Linked DNA regions of Homo sapiens: all the other regions are linked to region 5. Evidence: promoter capture Hi-C in 16 types of primary human blood cells and fetal thymus (Javierre and others, 2016). All regions are on one chromosome and are shown on one strand. The core of a region is centred on a gene start or on the middle of the fragment in contact, and the rest is flanking DNA. Distances in the headings are between cores, read along the strand shown.

Region 1 (4,011 bases), core at 1,350-3,849, 960 kb before region 5:
ATGCTGTGCTTCAGTGGTCATGCTCCTAGTCCACTTTCATGTTCCATCCTGTACACCTGGCTCTGCCTTTTAGATAATATTAGCAAAATTAGTGAAAATACTAAAAGTCTCTGATATACAGAAATAATGGTGTAAGCTGTCTCTCTCTCTCCCTGTCTCTCTCTGCCTCAGCTGCCAGGCAGGGAAGGGCCCCCTGTCCAGTGGACACGTGACCCACGTGACCTTACCTATCATTGGAGATGGCTCACACTCCTTACCCTGCCCCTTTGTCTTGTATCCAATAAATATCAGCACAGCCTGGCATTCGGGGCCACTACCAGTCTCCGCGTCTTGGTGGTAGTGGTCCCCCGGGCCCAGCTGTCTTTTCTCTTATCTCTTTGTCTAGTGTCTTTATTTCTACAATATCTTGTCTCCACACACAGGGAGAAAAACCCACCGACCCTGTGGGGCTGGTCCCTACAGTAGTGGTAGCAGAATAGAAAATATGTGGAAGGAATTAGAGATGCAAATCAGCAGGACCTGGTGATTGATTGGATGTGTGGTTTCAGGAAGATACTAAAGACCAATTTTACATATATTAAACATGTAGAATCTTAAAAATGATGTTAAGATGGTGGTATCCTCATCTTACAGATGCAGAAACTGGGATAAAGAGAAATTATATAGCTTTTCCCGAGCTATACGACAAGTAGACGATGGAGTCAGGACTTGAACTCAGGCCTTTGCATATCGAATTACATTTTCTTTCTATGAGTTTTAGGGCATTATGTGTTTAGCGTTAATTCATACTGGATGAGATAACATTGTTATAGATGACCATATACGATGCAGAGGGGATCAGAAGAGTCAGTTATTTGAGTGGAGTTGAAAAGTCAGTATCAAAAAAGTTTTTTAAGACAAGGTAATGCTTAACCTGAGTGTTGAAAGGAACTTAGGTATTTGCCTGGTGAAGGTGAGAATGGCATTGTAGGCAAAAGGAGCTGTGAGAGTAACAAGTAAATTGTTCAACAACATGGTATGTTTGAAGAAGTGAAAGTCATTTTCAGTTTGTCACATTTGTGAAGTGTAGGATTGATGGGTGTTTGGAGGAATGCATGACATAAGATTGACAAAATTGTGAAGAGCCTTGAAGATGGGGTTAAATGTTTTTCTCTCCAATTTTGGTAGGCTGTGGGAGTGCAGAATCATTGAAGTGACTCAACCATGTTGTTGAACAACTTTAGAAGGCTCTCTATGATATCGGTATGGAAGATAAATTGCTTAAGTGTAAGAAATTCAGGTGGCAGGTAGTAGCAGTAACTGTGGATATGAGAAATAAAGGGTAAATATGAGAGACTACGTAGAGCTTTAGGACCTTGTCCTGGACTTAATATTAGGAGTGGAGGAGAATATAGATGAGGAAAATAAAAGTGAAGGAGAAATTTAGAGCGACTTACAGGTTTCTGTGTTGTGTGATTTGGTGGGAGGTACCATTCCTTAAGGGAGAAAATATAGGAAGAAGAGCAGGGGCAGAGAAAGGGAAGATGAAGTCGGTTTTGGACATACTGAGTTTGAGATGTGTATCCAAGTGGAGGTGTACAGAGGCTTGGTGTCCCATACAGTTTCTCATTTAATCCTTTCTATAATACTGTAAGGTAGATGTTACTCTGTTTTTAAGAGATGAAGAAACCGAGGCTCTGAAAGGGTAATTTGCATAAAGTCAGTTAGCCAGACAGTGGGCAGCACTAGGATCTAAATGTAAATATTCTAATTCTCTTATTCTTATTGAAAGAGAGGGCTTTTTTTTGGGTTATAAACTCATCTATATTACACCTAGACTTTTAAGCATCTTTTTAAAGTTGTTATATTCATTAGTTTTTATATTCATTACCTAATATAATTTTTGGTATACATTGAAAAATATGTGATACGTGATCTGTTTTATTTAATCCAAAGCTTTATTTTCCTGTAACTATTAATAATTTTGACTTTTCTATCTAGGCTGAATATTTTGACATTTGAGCACCATGTAGTTGCAGAGACATGAGGAACAGTTGCTAACTGCATTCTTATGTGTGGTAGATTGATGAGTCATGGGGGTTGACGTTTCCATGTTATTATTAGCAGTCTTGCCTGTGGCTTGATGCTGTGCAGTGTGATATACTAATCAGTGATTTGTTAGAAATGGAATAGAAATCTAGAAGGAATGAAGGTATTTTTTTGCAGCTCTTATGTCTTAATTTAGATCTCAGTCATGATTTAATCTAGAATGTAGGCTCACATATCTCTATATAAGCATGCAAAGAATTGGCCAAAATGAAATTTCAAGTAAGATGCTTTTATTTCAGATTGACAATTGAAATGCGTGAAACAGGTCGTAAGATGAAGCATCAGACACTGAAATGTTCATGTATATGCTGTCTCATATAACCAGTTCTCATATCACCTGGCATGATTATGATGTGATAATATGGTTTCGGTTGTGCTATTTCATAACCTTTTCAGGCAACTGTGGCTCGTTAGGCCAGATTTAGAGGAAAATGTTAATGAAGTCAAAGCTCAAGGTTATAGCTTTAATTCTTTTAGTGGGCAGTAAAGTTTTTCTGGTTTCCTAACCACAGAGTCCGCCAGCAGTCTCACCAGATGCATGCCATTAGTTACAAGTGAAAATCATATTGGTTAATTTTGAGCTTCTCTTGTATGTGAAGACCTTGATAAAGGAGGTTGGATTAATCATGGCAAGAGACCACCAGTGCCAGAAGAAATGTAATTCATGTTTCATTACCAAAAACTGATAGTGAATCTGTAACAATGTTATTTTATGCAGGACAGAACTATTTAAGGAAAAGAATGAGGGAATTCTTAGTGATGGAATTTGGGCTTATCAGATGGCCAAAGACTTTGCTAGGTATTAGGGTTATAATCACTAAGCCTTTTTTTTTTCTTTTCTTGTCTTTATTCATTCAGTATTTGCTGAGTGTCCACAATGGTGCCAGGCTCTGTTCTAGTTTTAAGGAATATAGCAGTGAACAAAATAGACAAAATTCCCACTTCAGTGGAGCTAACATTTCAGTAGAGAAAGAAAAAATATATAAATATGAACTGTGTTACGAGATGATTGCTGTGACGAAAAATAAAGCAGGGTAAGAAGGATAGAGAGTAACAAAATAGGGGATGATTGCTGTTTTGGGAATATTATGGAAGTATTGTGATGAAGTAGCTTTTGAGCAGAATCCTAAAGGAAGTTTTCTAGGCAAAAAATAAGAACTGAGTGTAAAGCTTGCATATCTGTTGGGCAGACGGTGGTTAGTCTGTAAGCGTTTGGGGTTGTGGGAAAGGGTGAGTGAAGGGTCTTTCCTCCTACTCAGGAAGGTGGAGGTACAGAGTCAGTGTTGCTAGGAACACATGGAGCTCTGTGGGCTCTCCCCTGCAATCCGACCTGATAATAGAAAGATGCAGTGACAAGACAGATGGAATATCTATTTGTTATGCCTGCAGTGGGAGGTCAGGAAATCCCTTATCAAGGATGTCATGCTTTATATAAGAAGAATGAATTCACCAGGAGAATCATTGGAATGGCCTTGAGGGTCTGCAGCTCAGGAGTGGTTAAGGTAGGAAACTGATTTGGGGAGTTAGTGAACTGAGCTCTTTAAAAAATCAAGTCAATGGAATCACATGGGGAAATCATGTTGAATGGAAATAAGAGATTCTAGGATGCAGAGAGAGGGAGGAGAAAGAGAAAATAGGTTGGAAACTAAGAGAGGACAGAGTTTTCAGAAAAGGAGTGGTCAGCAGTGGCAAATGCTAGAGGTGTGGTCAGTGTTAGGTGAGCTAGGGAAAGGTAAGATTGTGCTAGACCTGAGTTGTCTGATAGTATAGCCACTTCCCACATGTGACTAATTTAAAGTTAACCTAATTAAATTAAAAGTTCTTCCTTAGTTTTACTAGCCACATTTCAAGATTTCAATAGCTACATGTAGGTAGTAGCTACCCTGTTGGACATTACAGATACACACTATTTCTATCGTCGTA
Region 2 (4,117 bases), core at 1,196-3,695, 840 kb before region 5:
GCAACTCCAGTAATTTGGTGGGTGCGTCAGAGGCATCTGAACCAGAGCAACTCCATCTTGAATAGGAGCTGGGTAAAATGAGGCTAAGATCTAGGCTGCATTCCCAGATGATTAAGGCATTCTAAGTCACAGGATGAGATAGGAGGTTGGCACAAGATACAGGTCATAAAGACCTTGCTGATAAAACAGGTTGCAGTAAAGAAGCCAGCCAAAACCCACCAAAACCAAGATGGCCACGAGAGTGACCTCTGGTTGTCCTCACTGCTATACTCCCACCAGCACCAAAGACAGTTTACAAATGCCATGGCAATGTCAGGAAGTTACCCTATATGGCCTAAAGAGGGGAGGCATAAATAATCCACTCCTTGTTTAGCATATCATCAAGAAATAACCATAAAAATCGGCAACCAGCAGCCCTTGGGGCTGCTTTGCCTATGGAGTAACCATTCTTTTATTCCTCTTTCTTAATAAACTTGCTTTCACTTTATGGACTCGTCCTGAATTCTTTCTTGCATGAGATCCAAGAACCCTCTCTTGGGGTCTGGATTGGGACCCTTTTCCTCTAACAGGTGTAATATAAATATCTGTTGAGTGCTAACTATGCCAGGCACTATGCAAAGTGTTTAGTGAACATTCTCCACCTACTCAAAACCTCTTGAGATTTTTATTTTGTATATGTTATCTCCACTGGTTTTTTTGGCGGGGATTGTTTTGTTTTGAGACAAGGTCTCGCTCTGTCGCCCAGGCTGGAGTGCAGTGGTGCAATCTTGGCTCACTGCAACCTCCCTTCCCGAGTTCAAATTATTCTCATACCTCAGCCTCCAGAGTAGCTGGGATTACAAGCATGCACCACCATGCCCAGCTAATTTTTGTATTTTTAGTAGAGACGGGATTTTGCTATGTTGGCCATGCTGGTCTTGAACTCTCGGCCTCCTGTGATCTCCCACCTCGGCCTCCCAAAGTCCTGGAATTACAGCCATGAGCCACTGCGGCAGGCCCATTGTTTTTAAAGATGAGAAAAGCAGAGATCAAAGAGGTTACTTGGTGAATGCCACAGGTAAGGAAATGACAGAGCAAATCCAGGTCTGAATCCAAAGCCCATGCTCTCAAGTGCCTGTGTTTTAGGCCAGGCAAGGTGGCTCATGCCTGTAATCCTAAAACTTTGGAAGGCCAAGTTGGGAGGATCACTTGAGGCCAGGAATTCAAGATCAGCCTGGGCAACACAGGGAGACCCTGTCTCTACTAAAAGAGAAAATAACCAGGCGTAGTGAGGCACAAAGCGACTTGAAGGCTAAGACAGGAGGATCACGAGCTCAGGAATGCGGAGCTGCAGTAAGCTATGATCTCGCCACTGCACTCCAGCCTGGGCGGCAGAGTGAAACTTCATCTCTTAAAAAACAAAAAAAATGTTATAAGAGACAGTATTTTCTGTCTTTGGGTTATATACAATAATCCTTGGCCATGTGTTTTAAAGCATACTGTTGATCACCGACGTGATTAATGGATTTAAATCTGCACAGCGGCTCATGCCTGTAATCCCAACACTCTGAAAGGCCGTGGCAGGTGGATCATTCAGGTCATGAGTTCGAGACCAGCCTGGTCAACATGGTGACATCCCCATCTCTACTAAAAATACAAATATTGGCGGGGCACAGTGGCGTATGCCTGTAATCCCAGCTACTTGAGAGGCTGAGGCACGGGAATCGCTTGAGCCCGGGAGGCGGAGGTTGCAGTCAGCCGAGATTGCGCCACTGCACTCCAGCCTGGGCGACAGAGCGGGAGTCCATCTCAAAAAATAGAGACTTCGCATCATTTCTGCTTAATATATTTGTGGTGTCTAGAGTTTTATTGTGATACCTGAGTCTAGGAAATGTGGTAAAGCCTCTGCAGCAGACATAAAGCCTGCAATTCATGGCTGTGGCCAGGCTCTCCTCACCTGTCCTGCATCTACAAATTATTTCCGTTATGGTAAGGAGAGCAACTCGTGGGGAATGTGGACAGGAACATGCGTGAATCCAAGGCAGAGGTTTTGCCCCGGAAAAAGCAGCTTCTGGCAGGGGATGAAAGCCAGCAGAGTTCCAACCGGGGTGCCCTCTCCTTCACGCAGGCCCCACTACCGTGTTGACTTAGGAAGAAAGTTTCTCGGGAGACTAAGGGATTTGGGGGCAGCGGACGCCACTGGAGGGAGATGAATTCACCTAGGGAGCCGGGGAGGGGCTTAGGGTTGCCGCTCCAGGCACAGCTGCTGGAAATCCTAGTCTGTTTTTTCTGCCTTCGCGTACAACGGGCCAGCTCACCCCACCTGGCAAAGCTGCAGGGCTTTTCCACCAGGCGGACAGAAGGGCAGCCCTCTCGCCCAACCAAGAAGCCGTGCTACCCCGGCTTCGACTCCTGGCTTCCGGGTTTTCTCCCCGCCTATTCCGTTTCCGGCCGTTCCCACCCCTGTTTTCGGTCGGCCCGGGTGTTCTGCAAGCTGGTCAAAAAGGGGAAGCGGCCCAGATATGTTAAGTTCTATGGCCGCTGCAGGGTCTGTGAAGGCGGCGTTGCAGGTGGCCGAGGTGCTGGAAGCCATCGTGAGCTGCTGCGTGGGGCCCGAGGGACGGCAAGTTTTGTGTACGAAGCCCACTGGCGAGGTGCTTCTCAGCCGGAATGGAGGCCGCCTCCTGGAGGCGCTACACTTAGAGCATCCCATAGCCAGGTACCCGCGTCCCACACGCTAACCCGTAGCCGGGCACCCCAGGCAGCCTCTGTGGAGCTCTTGTCCCATCCTGAGGCGATGCGTACTTAGAAAGACTGACCTCGGGTGAAACCGCTGTATGCTCGGAATTAGAGCCCTGCCCAAGGGAACACTCCTGCACCCCAAATCTTACCAATTCTCAAGACCACTTCTCCCCACTCCACCCAACGGTGGAATCTTGGAATAGAGCAGAGTTTTTTCCAAGAAAGGAAAAAACTAAGGATGTATCCAAGGAACAATATTCTCATTTTATGCTTATGGCTGTGTAAACATGGTTTTAAGATGTGGGAAGCCAGCCTTCTGAAAATGAGTTGCTTTATTTCTTTTTTGTACAGGATGATAGTGGACTGTGTTTCCAGTCATCTCAAAAAAACAGGAGATGGTGCAAAAACATTTATTATCTTTCTTTGCCATTTGCTTAGAGGACTTCATGCAATCACAGACAGAGAAAAGGATCCTTTGATGTGTGAAAACATTCAAACCCATGGAAGGCATTGGAAAAATTGTTCTCGGTGGAAATTTATTTCCCAGGCTCTCCTAACGTTTCAGACACAAATATTAGACGGTATTATGGACCAGTACCTAAGTAGACACTTTTTGTCTATCTTTTCGTCTGCTAAAGAGAGAACATTGTGTAGGAGCTCTTTAGAGTTGCTCTTAGAAGCATACTTTTGTGGAAGAGTGGGAAGAAATAATCATAAATTTATTTCACAGTTGATGTGTGACTACTTTTTCAAGTGTATGACTTGTAAAAGTGGGATTGGTGTATTTGAGTTAGTGGATGACCATTTTGTAGAGTTGAATGTTGGTGTCACTGGCCTTCCTGTTTCAGATTCCAGGATCATAGCTGGTCTTGTGCTTCAGAAAGATTTTTCTGTGTACCGCCCAGCAGATGGTGACATGCGAATGGTGATAGTAACAGAAACCATTCAGCCTCTTTTTTCCACTTCTGGATCAGAGTTTATTCTAAATTCAGAAGCACAGTTTCAGACATCTCAATTTTGGATTATGGAAAAGACAAAAGCAATAATGAAACATCTACATAGTCAGAATGTAAAATTGCTCATATCTAGTGTGAAACAACCAGATTTAGTTAGTTATTATGCAGGGGTGAATGGCATATCAGTGGTTGAGTGTTTATCATCAGAAGAAGTTTCTCTTATCCGGAGGATCATTGGTCTTTCTCCATTTGTACCACCACAGGCCTTTTCGCAGTGTGAAATACCTAACACTGCTTTGGTGAAATTTTGTAAACCTCTTATCCTTAGATCCAAAAGATATGTTCATCTAGGCTTGATAAGCACATGTGCATTTATACCACACTCTATAGTTCTTTGTGGACCAGTGCATGGTCTCATTGAACAACATGAGGATGCTTTA
Region 3 (3,804 bases), core at 1,033-3,532, 910 kb before region 5:
CATTACATGAATTATAATTATTTGTTGTCTACAGTTAATAATAATGTACATTTTATGATATGGAGAAAAGCAAAAAATAATAATAACCAAACCAACCCCTAAAACCCACAAACTTGTTGCAGTTATGGGTATTAGTGGTAAACTTATTCTCCATTAATTGATTTTGAAATGCCTTTGCCCAAGAAAGAATATGTCACATACAAGAAATTGAGTTTTGCCTGGTGCGGTGGCTCACACCTACAATCCTAGCACTTTGGGATACCAAGGTGGGTGGATCACCTGAGGTCAGGAGTTTGAGACCAGTCTGCCCAACATGGCGAAACCCCATCTCTACTAAAAATACAAAAATTAGCCAGGCATGGTGGCAGGTGCCTGTAGTTCCAGCTACTTGGGAGGCTGAGGCAGGAGAATCACTTGAACCCGAGAGGTAGAGGTGGCAGCGAGCTGAGATTTTGCCACTGCACTCTAGCCTGGGCGACAGTGAGACTCCATCTCAAAAAAAACCCAAAAAACAAAAAAGAAATTGAGTTTTGCTTTTTCATGTGTTCTTTCTAGTAAGGACAAAGTCTTAGATTATATGAGATGTTGTGCATGAATAGAGAACCAGCGTTGAAGTGAATGCATAATAAGGAAGGATACTGAGATCTTATGGTAAGATACCTATAAAAATGAGCCACTAATAAATTTTAACCTAGATGGTTATTGTCCAGCTGAGTGGGTGTATTTTCAGATTGAAAGAAAGAATTATAACCAAAAAAATCAATCTACGGCATATATAGAGAGCATCTGACTAGAGCTTTTAAATCTGAATTAAGGTAGGGTAAGGTATATGGATTTTAGTATAATTGGGAGAGAATTCTTTGGAATTTTAAAGATTAGGTATAAACAGATGGTACCTGTTAGATTTAATGACGTGGAGTCAATACTGGTCACTTAGTTTTAAACATAGTACATTTGTCACTGTGATAATAAAGTTGCTTTTAAAAAAAATTTTTTTTAAGCAGGAAAGACTCATTGATAGACTGAACAGTTTAGATGTAATGAAACTGTTCAAATTAAATTTTGAACAGTTTAAATGTAATTAAGAGGAACAGTAGCAGCTCATATTTTCTTCAAGGAACATGTTAGAGCATACAGCATTATGGTGTCGTTTTAATCTCCTCTGTTGATTGGTTTGCGCTAACACTGTCTTAATGACTCATATATCCCTGCTGGAGGCAAAACTTAAATGTTTATTCTCTGCTTTAACTGTTGGAATCCATCAACGTTGTGCTTGAAAGAGTATCTTTCCTTATGAATGTTTAATCATGGCTGAGGCAAGCTGTAGATTAGATATAAATCTAGAAGCTTCAGGGAAGATAAAAAGCATTATGTTTATATCCATCTTTGAAGTAAGTAAAAGCTGGGAAGGAAGGAGTCGGAAGAGGTGGGAAGTGTGGCCGGATAGTACAGAAACATAATGGATATGATAAAAGGATTGCATTTCTGAGAAGAGAAAATGACTTTATTGCTTCATCTTGAATTGCTAAGTATTGATCTTGTTTTGTTTTCCTAAAGCAGCAATTCAGTGCAGGGTGGTTTGATAAAAAGGTAAAACATTAGTAGAATAGCCTTTCATGTTTATCAGTTCCTTTTTTTAAAAAATCAGCAGCATGGTTTAATGCTTTTTCTGTCAGGCTTTCTCTATCTGTTTATTGCTGATTTGACAGTCTTTGGTCCTTCTCCTTTGCTGTTAAATGTGTGTGTTCTTTGTTTGTGCTGGTGGGTTTTGCTACAGTTGGATGTGAGAGAAAAGCCTGTCTTTGCCATATTGGTCTAATTAGCCTTTGGGTGAGCATATACATTAAATAGACCTTCTGAGCTATGAAAGAAGAGAGCTCACAACGTAGATTTTCTTCCTGTACTGGGGTTTTGCCTGTTTTATTTCCTCCCCGGATTGATGGCCGAAAGCTTGTTCGGAATGCTTCATTTGGAGGATACAATGAACTTTCTCCTTCATTGCCAGGTTTGTGTGTTTAATCTTGCATTCCTAATTTCTTGCAGACTTTTAATTAAAATAAACCAGGCATTTTAACATTTTAAAGCCGCTTTCATTTAAATAAAACAATTCTGTAGTGAAAGCTTAGGTTTCAGTAACTGCTGCTAAACAGCTTGGCTTTTCCATATTTTCTCTTAGAGCCTCTTCAGTTAAAACTTCAGAAGTAATGATTCAGTAAAGTAGGAATCTTGAGTGCTTACGGCATAAATTTTTGCTTTAATTATAGAAATATTATGACCCTTTGATAAAATTAAAGCCCTTCTAGACTTGAGATAAACACAAAATTATATAAATAAACACATTGCTCTGAGGGTTTACCAAATGAAACCCAGATATTAATATTGATATTTGTTCATTTTTTGCAGAATGGTAACTATATTAAAGTTGATGTTTAATGTAAGCTTTAATCTTACCACTTTATTATCTTAATCTTTTTATCTTAAATTCTTAAATTTATCTTAAATTCTGACTAAAGTGAAGCTTTCTACTCAAGTATAGTTTTTGAAATACCTTAGCTTCCTCTTGTTGTTAGATGTATTTGTGTGTGATTAATTTTTATCATGAAAATTTATGATATTTTTAGGGTTATATTTATTAGGCATTTGACAGCTATGATTTAGGCATTAAACAATTGGTCAATGAGATGTAGACATAAATTGATCTTTTATTGTTTGAAATTGTAGCAAATATTTGAATATGTTTAAATAATCTTTTCCTTTCAGATTTTTAAACACTATATAATTATGTCTACTCTTTTAGGGTTATATTTTCTTTTAAAATAAAAGTACTATTTAATAATGATGGCAAAGAAATATTGACTGAAACTGATACTTGTATTTATATATTTTTTCTGACACTTAGATTTTGTTGAATTAAATTCCCTATTTTCACAATAACCTTTATTCTTGGCTTTCTGAATATTCATGTTGATAAGTGGTATATGTGTTCTTCTGAGATAGTGAAACGCCTCATAGAAAGTGTTCACCTGGGCAATTAAATAAATTATAAATTGACTGATTTCATTCTTTTCTAACAGTGTTTCACAAAAGAATTGGAAACCATAGTCCTGAACTCTCCCTAAGTAGTATAAGCTTTAAATAGCACTCAATCCATATTAAGTCTTCTTAGTGTAGCATGGTTGCTCTCATGCGTCTTTCTTATGTTTTAAATGGTGTAAATTTTAGTCGTTTGTCATTCAGAAGTGGCTTTGCAAATACAAAATACTGAGATTTTTTTAATGTTAGATATTTTTTATTTTAAAATGAGTTTCATTTCTGTATTTGTTTCTGTCTCTTTGTTTGCATTTTTTAGGCCAACAAGCTTGCTAGTATATATTGTTTGCTGACCTTCATGCCACAAGTCCACTTAGCTTTACAGAATAATCATGTGACCTTGATGAACAATAGAAAACTTAGCTTTTAAGTTTGGTACTTATTTAATTAGGCAGTTAAAGGCAAAATTGTCAGTTTATCTTGTCAAAGAAATATTAAAAGCCATCTTGGATGGATTTGTTTCTATAGAAAAGTAAATGGTTTGCTTTGTTTTCTAATTCTTGAAATAGAGAAAATCATATTCATAGGAATGATTCCATCATCTCCTTAATACAACCAGCTGTGATAAAAAGCTCTATAAAATATCTGCTTTTATCAACTAAGAAGTAGAATGGAATTAAGTACTTCAAAGAAGTGGCTTTTTGTTGTGACTTAAGGTAAAAGTAAAAAGTACATCTAATATCTCCTGATATACTTCATTGTTGTATTGAAAAA
Region 4 (3,887 bases), core at 662-3,161, 970 kb before region 5:
CAACATTTAAGTTGTTTCTAGTTTTTTTCATCAGATTTATTACTGTGTTGGAATTGTTTATATATTTCTGGGCATTTGTATATCTGTGGGAAAATTTCTAGTCTTGAAATTGCTGGATTAAAACATACATATTTTTAATTGTCCTTCAAAAAATTGTCCTGATTTATATTCTCATAACAAAAGTACATGAGAATATCTGTTTCCCCACATTCTCTCCCATGATGGATTTTAGCATACTTTTTAGTTTTTACCAATGTAATAATGAAAAACTAATTTATTTCATTAGTTGTAAGTAGATTTATGCATCCTTTCAAATTTTAGGCAGTCTCATGTTTAACCTTGCTCTTACTATTTTTCTTCACTTGGAATATTTTTTTCTTCTTTCATTTTTCTCTGAACCTTTACCATTCTTCAAGCCCATGTCAATTTTTTTTTTAATTATTGAATTTCCAAATAACCTCAGACTAAAATGATTTTTCCCTTCTAACAAACTCAATGCTTTATTTCTACTTGTCACAGTTTTATACCAGTCCTAATAAATATCATTTTCTTATTTTAGGATTTGCAGATTTACAGAATGGCTGCACATTAATGGAAAGAGAAGCATAAACCTATCTTCTTTCATTATGGAGGGAGGTTTGGCAGATGGAGAACCTGATCGAACTTCGGTGAGTAGTTCATATATGACATAGGTTCTATCATCTGTAACTGTGAAGTGTTTGATGTAAGCTAGGGTTTTGTTTTTAAAATATATTAACAACAAACTTTTAAAAAGTATTTTTAAAATAATGCTTTAACTCCTTGAGAATTACAGATACTTTAAATGATATGAAAATTACAGATAGCTAGCTAGGCATGGTGGCTCACACCTGTAATCCTAGAACTTTGGGAGGCCGAGATGGGTGGATTACCTGAGCTCAGGAGTTCAAGACCAGCCTGGGCAACAATGGCGAAACCCTGTCTCTATTAAAAATACAAAAATTAGCCAGGTGTGGTGGCACATGCCTGTAGTCCCAGTTACTTGGGAGGCTGAGGCACGAGAATTGCTTGAACTTGGGAGGTGGAGGTTGCAGTAAGCCAAGATAGCGCCTCTGCACTCCAGCCTGGGCGACAAAGTCAGACTCGGTCTCTAAAAAAAAAAAAAAAAAAAAAAAAATGAAAATTGCAAATAGCTTAAAGTTTGTTGGAGCACACCAGTTTTCTGATATTTCTGCTCCATCCTCCTCCTCTTATTTTATCTATCCTTCCAGCCATATAGTGAAAGACATACTGATAGAATAATTTGTTTTCTCCCAAAACCTCTTTGTCTTAAGTGAAATCAAGAGAATGTTAACATTTGAGGAAATTAAATGCCTCCAAATCTCAAATCACATGCAGCTATGAGTAATAGTGGGAATGAAACAGTTAAAATAAGAGCAATTGCCACATATATTCTTTTTATAAAAATATAAAGATTTAATAAACATTTCTACCCTGTGATCATAATTGAATTCTGAAATTAAACAAGTAGTGGGTAGCAGGAAAAGTATACCTTACCTAATACATTAAAACAAAATCACTAGTAGGATGGACTAAATGATGATTTGTCATTTTTTTCTCACTGTACAAAAAGATTTTACTCCAGAATAATTTCATTTTCAATTCTCTTGTTGCATTTTGAGTGACTCCATTATATATTGATGTATAGACTCTTAGAAATATTTCTGTTACCTAAAGTAAAGGTGCCCCCTTCAGTAAAATGTAGTCAGCTGGTAGCTTTATCATTAGTTAGGTGGTAGATTCTTTAACAAATTTACATTGTTGGAATAAGGTAGAGCCCAACTTTTATGTCTTTTATATTGCTGTGGAATTGAGAGTCACTATTAGATTGCGGTGTTTGTAAATTTTAGTTTAGTGAATGTCCTTTGTTCAGGCTCCAGTGTAGGAACAGTCTAATGATTGATAGCAAAATGCAGTTTTGCTGACTAATATTAACTTGGTCCCAGCCTTTCTTGAATTCCTGGTTCAGTCTTGTTTGGGGTTCTTAAATGATCAAAAAAAGTTAAACTTTAAAATAAATTGTTAGTAGAGAAGAAAATGGGTGTGGAAATTCTTGGCTTATGAAGAAGGCTGTTGTCACATTGATTTAAATGAAAAACGGATGGTAAGTTACTTTATTTTTACTATAATTTCAGAAGAAAAGTTAATATTAAGCCTTGTCTGTAGAACTTAATGTTTATTTTATGATAAACTTTACCTTTTTTTATATCTAATGGACTTAGATTCTTTCAACTCAAATACTTTTGGTCTTCTAGTGATATTAAAAATATCAGTTGCTGTTTTTAAGTGTATGCTTTGTTAGACTGTCCTCATAACAGCTATTAAAGGTAGATATTTGTTTATCCTCACTTTTAGAGGTAGGGAAATAGGCTCAGAGAGGTTAATTATCTTCTCTAAGACTTCACAGCTTAAGCGATAGAACTGAAATCTGTCTGTCTCTGAATACTTTACTACTAAGATGTTGACTACATACCTATATTTCTGAATAAAGTGTCTTAAAATTTGTTGTTACTTTTCAAAGTATGTATCCAAGTAAATGTTATTACATTTTATTACCAGACTCCTTTGGCTAAAGTAATAAAGTTTTAGTCATTTCTGGAGTGCGGTGGCGTGATCTCTGCTCACCGCAACCTCCGCCTCCTGGTTCAAGCAATTCTCCTACCTCAGCCTCCTGAGTAGCTGGGATTACAGGCATGTGCCACCATGCTTGGCTAATTTTTTGTATTTGTAGTAGGGACAGGGTTTCTCCATGTTGGTCAGGATGGTCTCAAACTCCCAACTTCAGATGATCCACCTGCCTCAGCCTCCCAAAGTGCTGGGATTACAGGCATGAGCTACTGCGCCCGGTCTTAGTCATTTACTATTCCAAATTTTGTTGATATTGAGAAGTTAAAAGTTGTTTGAAAAGTAGTGAGAGGCCGGGCACGGTGCGTCACACCTGTAATCCCAGCACTTTGGGAGGCTGAGGCGGGTGGATCACCTGAGGTCAGGAGCTCGAGACCAGCCTGGCCAGCATGATGAAACCCTGTCTCTACTAAAAATACAAAAAAATTAGCCGGACGTGGTGGCAGGCACCTGTAATCCCAGCTACCGAGGAGGCTGAGGCAGGAGAATTGCTTGAACCTGGGAGGCAGAGGTTGCAGTGAGCTGAGATCGCGCCACTGCACTCTAGCCTGGGCAACAAGAGCGAAACTCCGTCTCAAAAAAATAATAAAAATACAAGTAGTGAGAACAGTTTTTCTTTTCTTGTTCATTAGGTTCCTTCTGTGAAATATTATAGCTAATTTTAGAGAAAATAATACCAATAATTTCAGTGTAAACTACTGAAATATTCTGTATTTGAAACTAACGTTGAGGTCCACTTTTGAGTTAACTATAAAATAATCACCTTTGAACTGCTTGGTCTAAGCTAGTTACTGTTTAGATCTGGGAGAAGTGGATCAGAACATGAGCTCTGTAAGACATTTAGCTACATGTTAAAATCTGAGCCCTGTCACTTAGTTGTATGACTTGGGTAGTAAATTCTCCAGGTTTCTAGTTTCCTTATAAATAGAGATAATTGTAATATCTACCTCCCAAAGTTATTTTCAATATTAATTGAGAAAATATGTCTATGAAGTGCCTATTACAAGGCTACACATACGTAAACATCCATTAAATAAAAGCAACTATTTTTATTGTTATTATAACTATTAATATTAAGCCTTCTCTACAAAAAGATAAATAATTAAAAGTCAGGAGAAGCCTGTGAAGATTCAGTGATTGCTCCACACTAGAGTAGTTGGAGAAGCTTTCTTAAGAGAACATAAACTTTGAATTGCACATGAACGTAGGGATCATAGGATTGA
Region 5 (4,007 bases), core at 1,293-3,792:
GTAAGGAATCTAGAGCAAATAGTTCCCACATGTGGAAACTATTGTTAAGAGGTTTTAAAAGTTTAAACTACTCATATGTAATATTGGTTACAATGTTTAATTCTTAGAAGAACTAGTCGAATTAATTTCGGAATTTGTTTATTCCATACCACGTTTATTTTAAAATTTTTCTTCAAAATTGCTTAAAACATAGTCTAAGCAAATTGTTGAAACGTTGTTCTCATTCAATTTGACTGTCAATTTTAATTTTTAGTAAGTATATATATATGTGCTATTCCTGCTTGTCAAGCCAAAATATGAAAATTCAGTTAATGAGTAACAATATTTAAGCATCAGAGTCTGTTTTAAAACTGAAAAAAAAATGTATGTGTACTAAGGAAAAGCTTCAGCCTCTCAGTCTCATGCAATTTTCTATTCATTTAATTTTTATACATTACTTCTTATAACTACTAGCATCAAATTAGTATCTTGCTATATTTTATCTCATATTATCACAGAGGAAAAAGTACTGTATAATTATATATACCCTTCAGTATATGATTAATAGTCATTATAATTAATATTTTTAAATTAATTTGTGATTTTTGTTGCAGGATTCATTTTTTAGTAAAAGCTTTTATATCCTATATGTAAGATAACTCCCTATTCCTGTGATATAACTTGTGTTAGATTATGGGTTCTGGAAGGCAAGTAACAGACTTAAAAAAATTCACTTAACTTCCAATCATATATTGTTTTTATATTGTATATTCAGTTGGTGGACAACATGAGGGCTTTTGAGTTAGGGAAGGGAAAGAATCACTTAATACTGAAATAACTTATTGTAGGAGCCTGATGAATCTTTTCCTTTGGAAAGCAGACAGTTTTAGTGTGGTGTCATCTATAATAGGAGGTCTTGAGGACGTTAGAGAATCTTAGAACTCAATTATTATCCATGTTTTTACACCCCTTTCAGTAATGATTTGGAAAAAGATGTAAAAATTTCAAAAAGGGACAGGTGAACTGTGGGCTCTGCATAGTATGGTAATTAAAAGGTTGGGTTTTACAAACAGACTCAATAGTGCCAAGAAAAGGATGGGTGGGTTTTCGTTTTCCCATCTCCATCATATTCTCAATATTCCTCAAATAATAGCAATACTAAGATTAAAAATATACACGTAAATGGGAAGAAAAGCCTATGTAGAAAATTTTGCTATAAAATAAAGGGCTTTAACACAAATATTATTTCTAGACTATTCCCTCCCCTTAATCCCTATCAGCCCTCTAACACATTTGAAGCTCCTAATGAATAGTAGCCCCCTGAAGCTGCTAGGTCAAACTGCCTGAACTTGAAGACGGGCCTTCCACTTATTAGTGATTGAGTTACTTAAAATAAGAATGATAAAAACCTGCTTCATGAGGTGTACTCCTCACTTTATAACTTTCACCTGCTGCTATCTGTTCTATTTTAGGAATTTATCATTTTTTGAGGAAATTAAAAGAACAGAGATAAAATCCCTGTCATTTATAAAACTCACAGGATAAAAACAAAAAACCCCTCTGTCGTGGGTTCTTCTGTCCATATGTAACAATCTGTTTCATACCTGGATCTCATATATGAAAACCTAAATTATTGTATAAGATACACGAGAGTGGATTTATCAGACAAACGTGTATTTCACTAATGCAAGGAATTTAACCTATCAAAGACTTTCCCTATTTGCTGCAGAAAATTTTAGAAATGCAAGCAATAAAATCAAAATTTAAAAAAATCTTATATTTGGCATGTCGAAGAACTCTTATACTTCCAAAAGTGTAGTTATTTGTAGTTAGTGATGAACCTCTCTACACATCTTAGCCCTATGTAATGTTGGGGGTAGAAAAGGAGTTTAGAGATTTTGAGAAATCTTAGGCTAGTTGAAATACTTCAGAAACGTCAGGATGTTGAATTACCATCCCTCTGACTTAGAGAAATACCAACACTCGGGAAGATTACCATCAGAAACAACTTTGAAAAGTTTAATTTTGTCACTGTTTTTAAAATTAGAAATAATGTAAATAAAGTACTGAAACAAAGTAGTCTCACAATAAATAGTAGCTATTCCTGTCACTTGTTGCAGTGGAGGCCCAATATACATTGTATTCTCATATTTGTACTTCCTCCCAACATCTAGCGCATATTTGGCCAACATATAAATATTTATCGAAAGAATGAATGACATCAATGACAGGTTGGTAGCACTCCGCTGTCCGATGGTCCAGGTTAGGCCGTGAGGCCACGAGGAAACTACGGATAAAACAGTATCCAATTTGCCTATACCGCCTGCTAAACTACAAGTCCCAGTACGCAAACTCCATGGTTTCAGGGCATACTGGGAGAAAGTCTCCGGCTCTTCATTGGCCACGTAGGAGAAGCTGTGGTTTGTGTAAAAGCGCGGGCTTAACGCACGTACGCACGGAGACTGCGCAGATCTCCTCGTCTGAGTTCCGCGGAACTCATTTTGAGTGTAGGCGTTTTAGCCGGTAGGGTTTAAGAACAGTTTCATTTCCGGAGCCACCGGAAGCAGCTTGCAAATGGCGTCTCCCTCGCTGGAGCGGCCAGAAAAAGGCGCTGGAAAAAGTGAATTTCGTAACCAGAAGCCGAAGCCGGAGAACCAAGGTGATGTTATGTGGGAACCGAAGCCTGGGGTTTGTGTACGTTGAGTTGCGATGTTTTTTTCTTTCGTTCCTCGTGGACTTATAAAACCACCTGGAGCCTGTACTGTGTAGTTGAGTACCTGAATAATCGCTGATAAGATTTTGGCTGGGCCCACAGGAACGGCTGGCCGATATGGTGCCACCCAGGTGTTCCTAATTCATTGCTTTTGCTAAAGGGTCCCCAAAGCGAAGCTGTTGCGGATTACGTCTTTTGTAAAAGGATGAGTATTAAGAAAATGCCTAGGGCGACGCAGAACCTTGTAAGCCTGCGGGTGGCTGAAAGTCACTGACGGAATGAGGAATAGGGTGAGGTGGGAATAGGTAGTCATGATATACAAGAGTGGACCCTGATAATGGGGTGAGGTATGGGGAAAGGAGCTATCCGACATGTCCTTAGCTCTAGTTTGTCAGTAAAGACATTTTGAAAGATTATCAATTCCTGTTTGTCAGATGCTAAAATATTAGACGACACAGCCCTTACTGTTTAGGTTGTGTTACCTTTTAATTGTTAACTCCTGCGTTGTAGTCTGGTTTTACCCGTTTTCTTCAGTGTGAATGATAGAGAAGTCATAAATAGCCTGGGGATCTGTTCAACCAGGCTTATAGGAAGTGTTAAAAACATTGAACTCTCAATTTAGATGCATTGGGAAAGTATTCAAAGTTTCTTTGTTGTTGCTCATTAAATGATTATGTAACGTACATAGCAGGGGATACAACTTATATAGAGTTTAATAAAACCATGCGGGAAACTAGCATTCAGACTAAGTAAAATAGAGCATTACCATACCCCTCAAACCCTTACGTGCACCTCTCAGATCATATTCTCTTTTCCTGTATCAGACGTAACCACCCTGAATTGTGTTGCATTCTGTTCCTCTTCTTGTAGTCATGAAGTGGCTTAATTTAGCCTGTTTTTTAATTTTATATACATGAAAGTGGACCGTATGCATTTTTCTGTGTCTTCTTAGATTTAGCTTTTTGTTTTTCAAACAGGGTGATACTTGCGGGTGTAGTTTTAGTCTTTTCACTGTTATGTGGTGTTTCCTTGTATGAATATACCCCAATTTATTTTTTCATTTTACTATCGGTGGACATTTGGATTGTTCCCAATTGCTTGCAATTATAAACAATACTGCTAAAACATCTTTGTACATGTCTTCTGGTTAACATGTTCAAGGGTTTCTCTAGGTTGTGAACATAGGATTGGAATCACTGAAGTGTAGGGTGTGTGTAAGTAATGCTAACTTTTTTCCAAAGTGCTAGTGTCAGTTTTGTTCCCACTAGGAGTGGACGAAAGTTGTCATTGCCTTACATTAGTATGAATACATGTT
Region 6 (3,946 bases), core at 605-3,104, 820 kb before region 5:
TTGGGTGAGGACACAGTCAAACCCTATCAAGAGGGAACAAGGAGTCAGACCTCACCCTACTCATCTGTCTCTAATAAAGGAAGAGAAGAAAACATTTTATATGCTTATGTGAAATCAGTGGTTGCCAGGGAATAGAGTCTGGGGTAAGGATTAACTATGAAGGGGAATGAATGGACTTTTGGGGATGATGGGCTGTTGTGTATCTTGACTGTGGTGATGGCTACAAAACTGTATGTGCTCATCAGAACTTATAGAACTGTGGACTGAACAGGATGAATTTTACTATAAGTAAATTATGCCTCAATAAACTGGACCTTTTTTTTTTTAAAAAAAAAAGACACTTTTATGCAGGCACTTTAACAGAGGGGTACCATAACATAGTGAATTTTTCTATGATATGGGTTTTGGATTTCATCCAAACAGGTGTAATTCCTGTCACATCAAAAGAAGACTGTCATCACGAGGCTTAAGCTGTCCAGTGGTTATCTGTAAGTAAAACCTCCCAGTCAATGATAGTGAGCTGTGTGTGTGTGTGTGTGTGTTTTGGTGGGAGAGATAAACACATTTCAAAGTAAATTAAATTTAGTAGAGTTTTTGGTATTAAAGTAACAAATTTTCATAACTTTGCAAAACACAAAGGGAAGGAACATTTTAGAGGTAATGAATCAAGTGACTATGTAATATAAATGCTCTTTTTTGATTGCTCTGTTTTTATTCTGAAAAGTTTGTTGTATAAATACGATTCTAAGATAACAGTGATGCTTAACAATGGAATTTAAAAGACTATTATTTTGTTACAAAACCTTTAACAGATATAAAGCAAAACAGGTTTTCCTAACTCAGAAGCTGATATAGTACTTGAGATATTATCCTTAGGCACGACACTGATGCCATTAAGCTTTTGTGAAATTAAAGATTTGAGAAGAACATTGATCATTGCAGCATTGGACTTCAACAGCTGAGCTCTCAAGGTTTTCAATGTAAGATGTTGTTAATGAAAATGAAATGTATAGTATTCCACTATATAAATATGCTACCATTGATTTATTCATTACAAAGCAATGGGAATGACAGCCCACAACTACACACAATACTGTGAATTGACCTCATAAATAAAAGAAGGCAGGTACAAAAGTATATACTGTATGATTTCACCTATGTAAAGCATCAAACCTGGAAAAGCTAGTCAATGCTATTGCAGGCCAGTGCAACAGTCCCCTTGCAGGGCAGCAAGGGGATCTAGTGACTGAAAGAGAGCATGTTGTGGATTTCTTGGTATGGATAATGTTCTATTTATCTGGGATCTGGTTACATAAACGTGTTCAGTTTGTTATTCATCAAGCTATACACTTATTTGCATTTATATATATGCTATACTTCAATAAAAAGGTTTTTTTAAAATAAAAAAGAAATATATGGCACAATAGCAGAAGACCGTGTCGTAAAACAGAAAATTAGGACATTAGCCTACACTTCTCATGATCACCGATTGCTCTAACAAAAGGCTACTATACACTTGACAACAGAACTGTCCTATCTGAGCAGATGCCCCTCTTTGGTTATTTTTTAAATTTTTTAAATTAACAGATAAAATTGTATGTATTTACTGTGTACTACATGATGTGAAGTATATATACATTGTGAAATGATTGAATTTAGCTAATTAACGTATGCATTACCTTGCAGAGCTATTTTTGGGATAACACTTGACATCCACTCTCGGCATTTTTCAAGAATACAATATGTAATGAACTATAGTCGTCCAGTTGTACAGTAGATGCTTTCAACTTATTCCCAACCACCTTATTCCCTGGTAACCATCATTCTACTGGCTACTTCTATGAGATTACATAGAAGTAGACTCTGTGTCTAAATGAGACCATGCAGTATTTGTCTTCCTCTGGCTGGCTTATTTCATTTAACATCATGTCTTTCAGGTTCATCCATGTTGTCACAAATGTCAGGATTTCTTCTTTTTTATGGCTGAATAGTACTCCGTTGTGTATGTATACCACATTTCTCTTCATTCATTCATGTATTGATGTACACTTAGGTGGATTCCGAATCCCGGCGATTGTGAATAGTGCTGCAGTAAACATGGAAGTGCTGCTATCCCCTCAACATGTTGATTTCATTTCCTTTGCATATGTACCCAGTAGTGGGATTACTGAAACATGGTAGTTCTATTTTTAATTTTTTGAAACATCTCCACACTGTTTTTCATAATGGCTGTACTAATCTACATTCCCACCAATTGTGTACAAAAGTTGTCTTTTTTTCCATATTCTTGTCAATGCTTGTTAACGTTTGTCTTTTTGATAGTAGCCATTCTAACAGGTGAGAAGTGATATATCCTTATAGTTTTAATTTGCATTTCCTTGATGATTAGTGATGTGCAGCACTTTTAGATATACCTGTTAGCCACTTGTATGGAAGACCCCCTACCCCTCTCTTTGGGCAGGCAGCTTCAGGAGAGGTTCAGGAGCAAGGGAGCACAAAATCAAGCCTAGCAGCCAACAAGGTGACAGACATCATAGCCCAATCACCTTCATGTTCTCATTAAAAGATTTGGGACTTTTACCTAACAAATTCAGTTGCTTAAAAACTGAGCCAGACATTAATATGTCACAGTGTTGGGGCATAGCACTTCTATAGGGCTTGGAAGTTGGAAAATCTGTTTTCTTGTATTTCTCCTGCTTTCACTAATTATAAGCAAATTTATCAAGCACAATTTTATGCAATTCCCTTTGCCAGAAGCTGTGGGGGATGAAAAGATACGTAAGACACAGTTCTTGACTTCAATAAGCTTGTGATTTCATAGGGAGAAAGCCTCACACCATGAAAAGATTAACCAAAAATACATAGCGGTATGTAAAGGTTGAATGGGGGAGTGCTGATTAAATGCAGCTTTTATCATGTGAGGTGAGAGCTTACTGTGGGCAATAAAGGACAGAGAAAGCTTATCAAAGGAAAGTAAACTTGAGTCGGAATTTGAAGGAAAGGATGTAAAGGAATAAGCCAGACATGAAAGTAAGCTAGAGGGGAAATTTCAAGAGAGAGAAATAATGTAAATAAAGATGCTAAGGGATCAATACACAAAGGACATTTAATTGGGATTGCCTCATGGCGCAGAGTCTGAGAAAATATATTCAAAGAAACAGTCCAGCAATTAAAAGTAATTCAAATCTTTGCTGGAATCTTTCAAAGGCTGTCCACAGGGATCTATCCAATTGGTAATCCCAAGCATAATTTCCTATAATATCCTTTTCTACATTTCTTGAGGTCTAATATCTCTCACATATTGCAGCTATAACTAGACCAAGGGTTGGCGAATTTTTTCTGTAAAGAACCAGATAGTAAATATTTTAGTCTTTGCGGGCCGGATAGGATCTGTTGTAATTATTTCACTCTGCAGCTGTAGCCACAAAAGCAGCCATAGACAATATGTTAATGATGGATATGGCTGTGTTTCAATAAAACTTTATTAGCAATAATAGGTGGCAGGCTGCATTTGGCCCGCAGGCCATAGTTTGCATATCCCCGAACAAGACTTATTTCCAATACCCCCAGCAAAGTCAACCTCTCCTCACAACCTAAGTTCTCCTTTTCTTTTTTATCCTTCCCCTGTCCTTTTTCTTGTCTCTCACAGTTAAATTTTATTCCCTATGATGCCAGTTCCTGTTTTTCATTAAGAATCAGGATCAATGGGTAGAGAAAAACAGAATAGGAATCATGACATACCAGGGAAATATTGACCATTTCTAACAAGGAAGAGTGAGTCAACCCAAGGAATATTTTAAGAAAATTAACCTGGCAGCACTGTGTGGGATGGATTTTAGTGGGTATTAGCAGGAAGCAAAGAGACCTATTAAGAGGTTATGGCAAAGAACTGATGCAATAGATGTGGAGTATAAACTAGAATGTCAGATAGGAATGGGAAGAAGGG
Region 7 (4,237 bases), core at 1,351-3,850, 860 kb before region 5:
TGGATATTCAACCAAATTCTTTTTAATTAACTAGTATTACGTAGTCAATCTTAATGTTTTTATAAAAATGATAAGAAACTTGGAGTTTTTGGAAAAGTGCTAGTTATATTTGTTTTAAAAATGCTTTTAACTGGAGGATTAACCAGAAGAAATTATCACCGTCATATTACTATACTATATAATTGCCTTCTAAGTATAATTCTTTACATTAATTTTGAATTTTTTTAAATATAGGATAGTGAAGTTTTTATTACTGATAAAAAGACTGATAATTCAGAGGTTTTCTGGAATCCAACACCTGACATTAAGCAATGGAGATTAATAAGGCACACTGTAAAATTTGAAGAACAGGGAGATTTTGAATCAGAGAAGTAAGTATACTGTTTTACAGCTAACTTCATGAGGATCAGAGAGTAGTTTTTCAATTCCTTAATGATATGGTCATTTTGTCACCTTCTGTCATATCTTAATTCAGCAAAATAGTTTATCATTTGTGGAAGTGACAGTATTCTGTTTTTGTGTATATGAATGTCAAATATAATATAAATCGTCTTGCTTTTCTGTAGCTCAAAACTACTCATTTTTTTCTTTCTCAATTGTTCCAGCACCTTAAAAAAAAAGAAAGAAAGAACGTTTTTGTTTAAATAAGATTACAGGACTAATTAATGACTCTTAGTTTCTACCTGGCAACAGTTTTCTAACCTGATTTAAGCATTAGAACTCTAGGTAAAGGGAGTGGTGCAGAATCTACTTCTGTTCCATTCTCTGATACAAAAGTAAAGTTACTGGATGGACTGGCTTCTATAGGATTTATTAGTTGGGTAATAACTAAGGCTATCATTTCTGTTCTTAAGTCATGAACTTCTTGCTAGATGGCTTATATTTTTGAATCAGAAATATTGTATACACATTCCCTATTTTATTGTTGTTATATCTTTGTGTTAAGAGAAAGAGACTTATGTATAAGAGATATTTTGCTAGGCACTTAGTACTTATTATGCAACTTTGTCCTCCCTACATGTTTGCACATACATATCATTCTCTGTCATGGGAATTCAAGTCTGTGTACCTTCCCTTCTACACTCAAATTTGAGGTTGTCAAAGATGGAAGAATGTATATGTACCAGTTCTAAAAATTCTGTCTCAGCCATAACCATTTGATGTTCTTTTTCCAGAGATAAGCTTTGCCAAGGCATACATATGATAATTTGTGAGAGTATATAATTCAGCATATTTGAAGATGAGGAAATGAGACTTAGGATAAATAACTTTAAGTGCACCAGCTAAGAAGTGGCAGCTCTAGGACTTGACTCATGTCTATCTGATCCCAAAGCCTTTTCTGGTTTTAACATGCTGCCTTTCTAGATGGGTAGGATATAGATATACTTTTATTTAACAGAAGAAAGAACTAGTAGGGGAAATCATTTTACCTCAGTAGTCTTTTCTGTTAAACCAGTGGTTCTCAACACTAGCAATACATTAAAATATTTTGGGGAAACATTTAAAAAATATATCAATACTTGCGCCTGACCCCAGAGATTCTGATTATAAAAATTCTCTGATAATTCATGGATCCAAACTTCAGAAGCACTGCATTACATTAATGGATCTTTATGAAGCCAGTGAATCTTAAACAGTGTAAGACGCATCTAGGAAGCTTGCTAAAAGCGTAGATTCCTGAGCTTTACCTTCATTACATCCTATCATCTTGAGCCAGCAACACTTCAACACTTACTATCATGAGTTTAAGAGTCTATGTAGTAAGTTTCTCTTGCCAAGTAAAAAAAATTAGTCTCCACTTATGAACAGGTCTCTCTCTACTCAAGGGACTGGATTTATATCTTGACTCATTTCTAAGCCTATGAGCATAAGTGTTGTCAAAGCCAGAAATTCATGTGAGCATTATTTTCTCTACAAGGGATTTGAGGCCTATTCTATATAGATTTTATTTTCTGTTACATTTTTAATACTTTTAATATTTTCGCACATGTATTAGACTCTGGCAACGGGTAACTCGAGCCATAAATGCCAAAGACCAAACTGAAGCTACCCAAGAGAAGTATGTTTTGGAAGAAGCTCAAAGACAAGCTGCCAGGGATCGGAAAACAAAAAATGAAGAGTGGTCTTGCAAATTATTTGAACTTGATCCACTCACAGGAGAATGGCATTACAAGTTTGCAGAGTAAGTAACTTAAAATAGTTTATTTCAAACAATGTATTAGCATGGTTTGTTGCCTTTATTTCTAGAATATTTGTTGCTGGAGTAGTTTTTATTTAATTAAACCATGTATATTAGTGTGAGATTTTTAAACTTGGTTTTGCATTCATTATAAGCTTGACTCTATGATAGAAGTTAGCCTATAAAATAAGTTGAGGATCTGAAGATTAGGTATGGGGAAATCTCATTATTAGAACTATGTATATAATTATTAATAAAATTGGATCATAGAATAGAAAGTTTTAAAGTTCTTTGTTTAGTCATTGAGCAAATGGTTTTTTTTTTTTTCATTTATGTAGTACCCGACCATGGGACCCACTTAATGATATGATACAGTTTGAAAAAGATGGTGTTATTCAGACCAAAGTGAAACATCGTACTCCAATGGTATGTAATAAAAAACTAGGTACACTAGGTATATAAATCTGTTAAATCTTTAGTATCTATAGCAACCAACTAAAATTTGGTTTCAAAATTTAAAATTTTGGGTGAGCAAAATACGCAGCTCTGAACTCTTCTTACCCCAAAGAAACATCAGAAAACAAGCAAAAACTGTCAACTCAATTTGCCAGAACTCTGGAAAACAGTCAGAGGTGTTCAGCAACCAAGTGAACACTGGTCAAGAAAGTGCAAAGAGAGGAAAGCTTTGTGGCATTTTACCTGCCCTTGCCCCAGGTCCATCCCAGTGCAGTAGCAGTCTTGAAGAGCCCCTGCGTTGCCAGTGTAAGTCCCTAGTTCCAGAAGGAGCAGAGTGGACCTCATACACAATTGTGTATGTCTGTCCTAACCTGTCAGAATACTACCTGAAGGACTTACACAGGCACTCATCTCTGAGAAAATCAATAAAGACAAATTATTCAAGGGAGCCAAACAAATTCTGGAGCTGAAAAGTATAACAAAAATGAAAATTCACTAGAGGTATTCAAAAGCAGATATAAGCAAGCATAAGACAGGATCAGGAAACTTAGAGATAAGACCATAAAAATTATCCAGTCTGAGGAGGAGAAAGAAAAATGAATGAAGTGAGGTGAACAGAGCCTAAAGGACCCATGGGACACCATCAAGTGGGTTATCATTGCATTATGGGAGTTCCACAAAGAGAAGACAGAAAAATGAATGAAGAATATTTAAGGAAAGAAGACCCCCCAATCCCCAAATTTGGTGGAAGATATAAATCTACAAATTCAAGAAGCTCAACAAACTCCAAGTAGGATGATCTCAGAGAGACCCACACCACAACAAACTGTCAAAAGCCAAAGAGAGTCTTAAAATCAGCAGAGAGAAACAACTTATCACATACACTGGGGATCATCCATAGGATTAACAACCGATATCTTATAGAAACCATGGGGGCCAGAAGGCAATGAGATGACATATTTAAAGTGGTAGAAGCAAAAACTTGTCAATCAAGAATTCTGTATCTGGCAAAACTGTCATTCGAAAATGGGGGAGAAATTAAGACATTCCCAGATAAAAGCTGAGGGAGTTCATTACCACTAGACCTGCCCTACAAAAAAATGCTAAGGTAAATATGTAATAAAATGAAACTCAAAGCTGTATGAAGAAATAAAGATTTTTAGTAAATAGTTGGACAAATATAAAAGCTAGTGCTATTGTAATTTTAGTTTGTAAGTCCACTTTTTATTTCCTGCAGGACTTAAAAAATAAATGAATGAAAAATAATTTAATTACATATCTTTGTTATCAGACATACAATGTGTAAAGATATAGTTCATTACAACATAAAAGCAGAGAGGATGGAGCTGTATAGGAGGAAAGTTTTTATGTACTACTGAAGTTAAGTTGGTATCAACTCAAACTAGATTGTTGTAGAGGTAGGTGTAAATGTCATCCCCATAGTAACCACAAATGAAATATCTAAAAAAATACACACAAAAGAAAATGAGAAGGGAATTGAAACAGTTTACACAGGAAGCAAACACAAAAGCAGGCAGTAATGGAGTAAATAAGAAACAAAAAACGTATATGACGTATAGAAAATAGCAAAATCAGAGGTAA

The links. Contacts are between HindIII fragments. The CHiCAGO score rates a contact against its expected background, and 5 or more counts as called.
Region 1: a fragment that was not itself captured here is called in contact with the fragment with the promoter of KRR1 in region 5 in 2 of 17 cell types (naive B cells and megakaryocytes); the score reaches 6.4 in naive B cells.
Region 2: the fragment with the promoter of BBS10 here is called in contact with the fragment with the promoter of KRR1 in region 5 in 15 of 17 cell types (M2 macrophages, naive B cells, total B cells and 12 more); the score reaches 18.6 in M2 macrophages.
Region 3: a contact is called between a fragment that was not itself captured here and the fragment with the promoter of KRR1 in region 5, in 1 of 17 cell types (naive B cells). The highest score is 5.3, in naive B cells.
Region 4: a fragment that was not itself captured here is called in contact with the fragment with the promoter of KRR1 in region 5 in 1 of 17 cell types (total B cells); the score reaches 6.1 in total B cells.
Region 6: a contact is called between a fragment that was not itself captured here and the fragment with the promoter of KRR1 in region 5, in 2 of 17 cell types (M0 macrophages and M2 macrophages). The highest score is 7.1, in M0 macrophages.
Region 7: a contact is called between a fragment that was not itself captured here and the fragment with the promoter of KRR1 in region 5, in 2 of 17 cell types (M2 macrophages and naive CD4 T cells). The highest score is 7.2, in M2 macrophages.

What each region holds. Positions count from the first base shown.
Region 1 is chr12:76,468,818-76,472,828 of GRCh38, reverse strand. The region is part of intron 2 of OSBPL8 (oxysterol binding protein like 8); the gene reads left to right. Among named protein-coding and RNA genes, the nearest start is that of OSBPL8, 89 kb to the left of the region's middle. RefSeq lists an enhancer at 1,101-1,180. The HindIII fragment of the contact is 1,323 bases long and covers 1,938-3,260 here.
Region 2 is chr12:76,346,743-76,350,859 of GRCh38, reverse strand. It overlaps BBS10 (Bardet-Biedl syndrome 10), which reads left to right and starts at 2,445. Exons shown (of 2, transcript NM_024685.4): 1 at 2,445-2,698; 2 at 3,073-4,117. The coding sequence starts at 2,502. RefSeq lists enhancers at 2,044-2,093, 1,240-2,189, 2,190-3,139. The HindIII fragment of the contact is 11,737 bases long and covers 1-4,117 here.
Region 3 is chr12:76,420,712-76,424,515 of GRCh38, reverse strand. All of the region lies in intron 4 of OSBPL8 (oxysterol binding protein like 8), which reads left to right. Among named protein-coding and RNA genes, the nearest start is that of BBS10, 74 kb to the right of the region's middle. The HindIII fragment of the contact is 318 bases long and covers 2,124-2,441 here.
Region 4 is chr12:76,484,291-76,488,177 of GRCh38, reverse strand. OSBPL8 (oxysterol binding protein like 8) reads left to right here. Exons shown (of 24, transcript NM_020841.5): 2 at 560-668. The coding sequence starts at 627. Among named protein-coding and RNA genes, the nearest start is that of OSBPL8, 74 kb to the left of the region's middle. The HindIII fragment of the contact is 3,840 bases long and covers 1-3,831 here.
Region 5 is chr12:75,510,144-75,514,150 of GRCh38, reverse strand. It overlaps KRR1 (KRR1 small subunit processome component), which reads left to right and starts at 2,542. Exons shown (of 10, transcript NM_007043.7): 1 at 2,542-2,638. The coding sequence starts at 2,554. RefSeq lists enhancers at 2,575-2,734, 2,241-2,784, 2,785-3,329. The HindIII fragment of the contact is 5,214 bases long and covers 616-4,007 here.
Region 6 is chr12:76,329,346-76,333,291 of GRCh38, reverse strand. No RefSeq gene overlaps it. Among named protein-coding and RNA genes, the nearest start is that of BBS10, 17 kb to the left of the region's middle. The HindIII fragment of the contact is 1,908 bases long and covers 901-2,808 here.
Region 7 is chr12:76,367,582-76,371,818 of GRCh38, reverse strand. It overlaps OSBPL8 (oxysterol binding protein like 8), which reads left to right. Exons shown (of 24, transcript NM_020841.5): 19 at 235-371; 20 at 1,997-2,182; 21 at 2,518-2,605. Among named protein-coding and RNA genes, the nearest start is that of BBS10, 21 kb to the right of the region's middle. The HindIII fragment of the contact is 528 bases long and covers 2,337-2,864 here.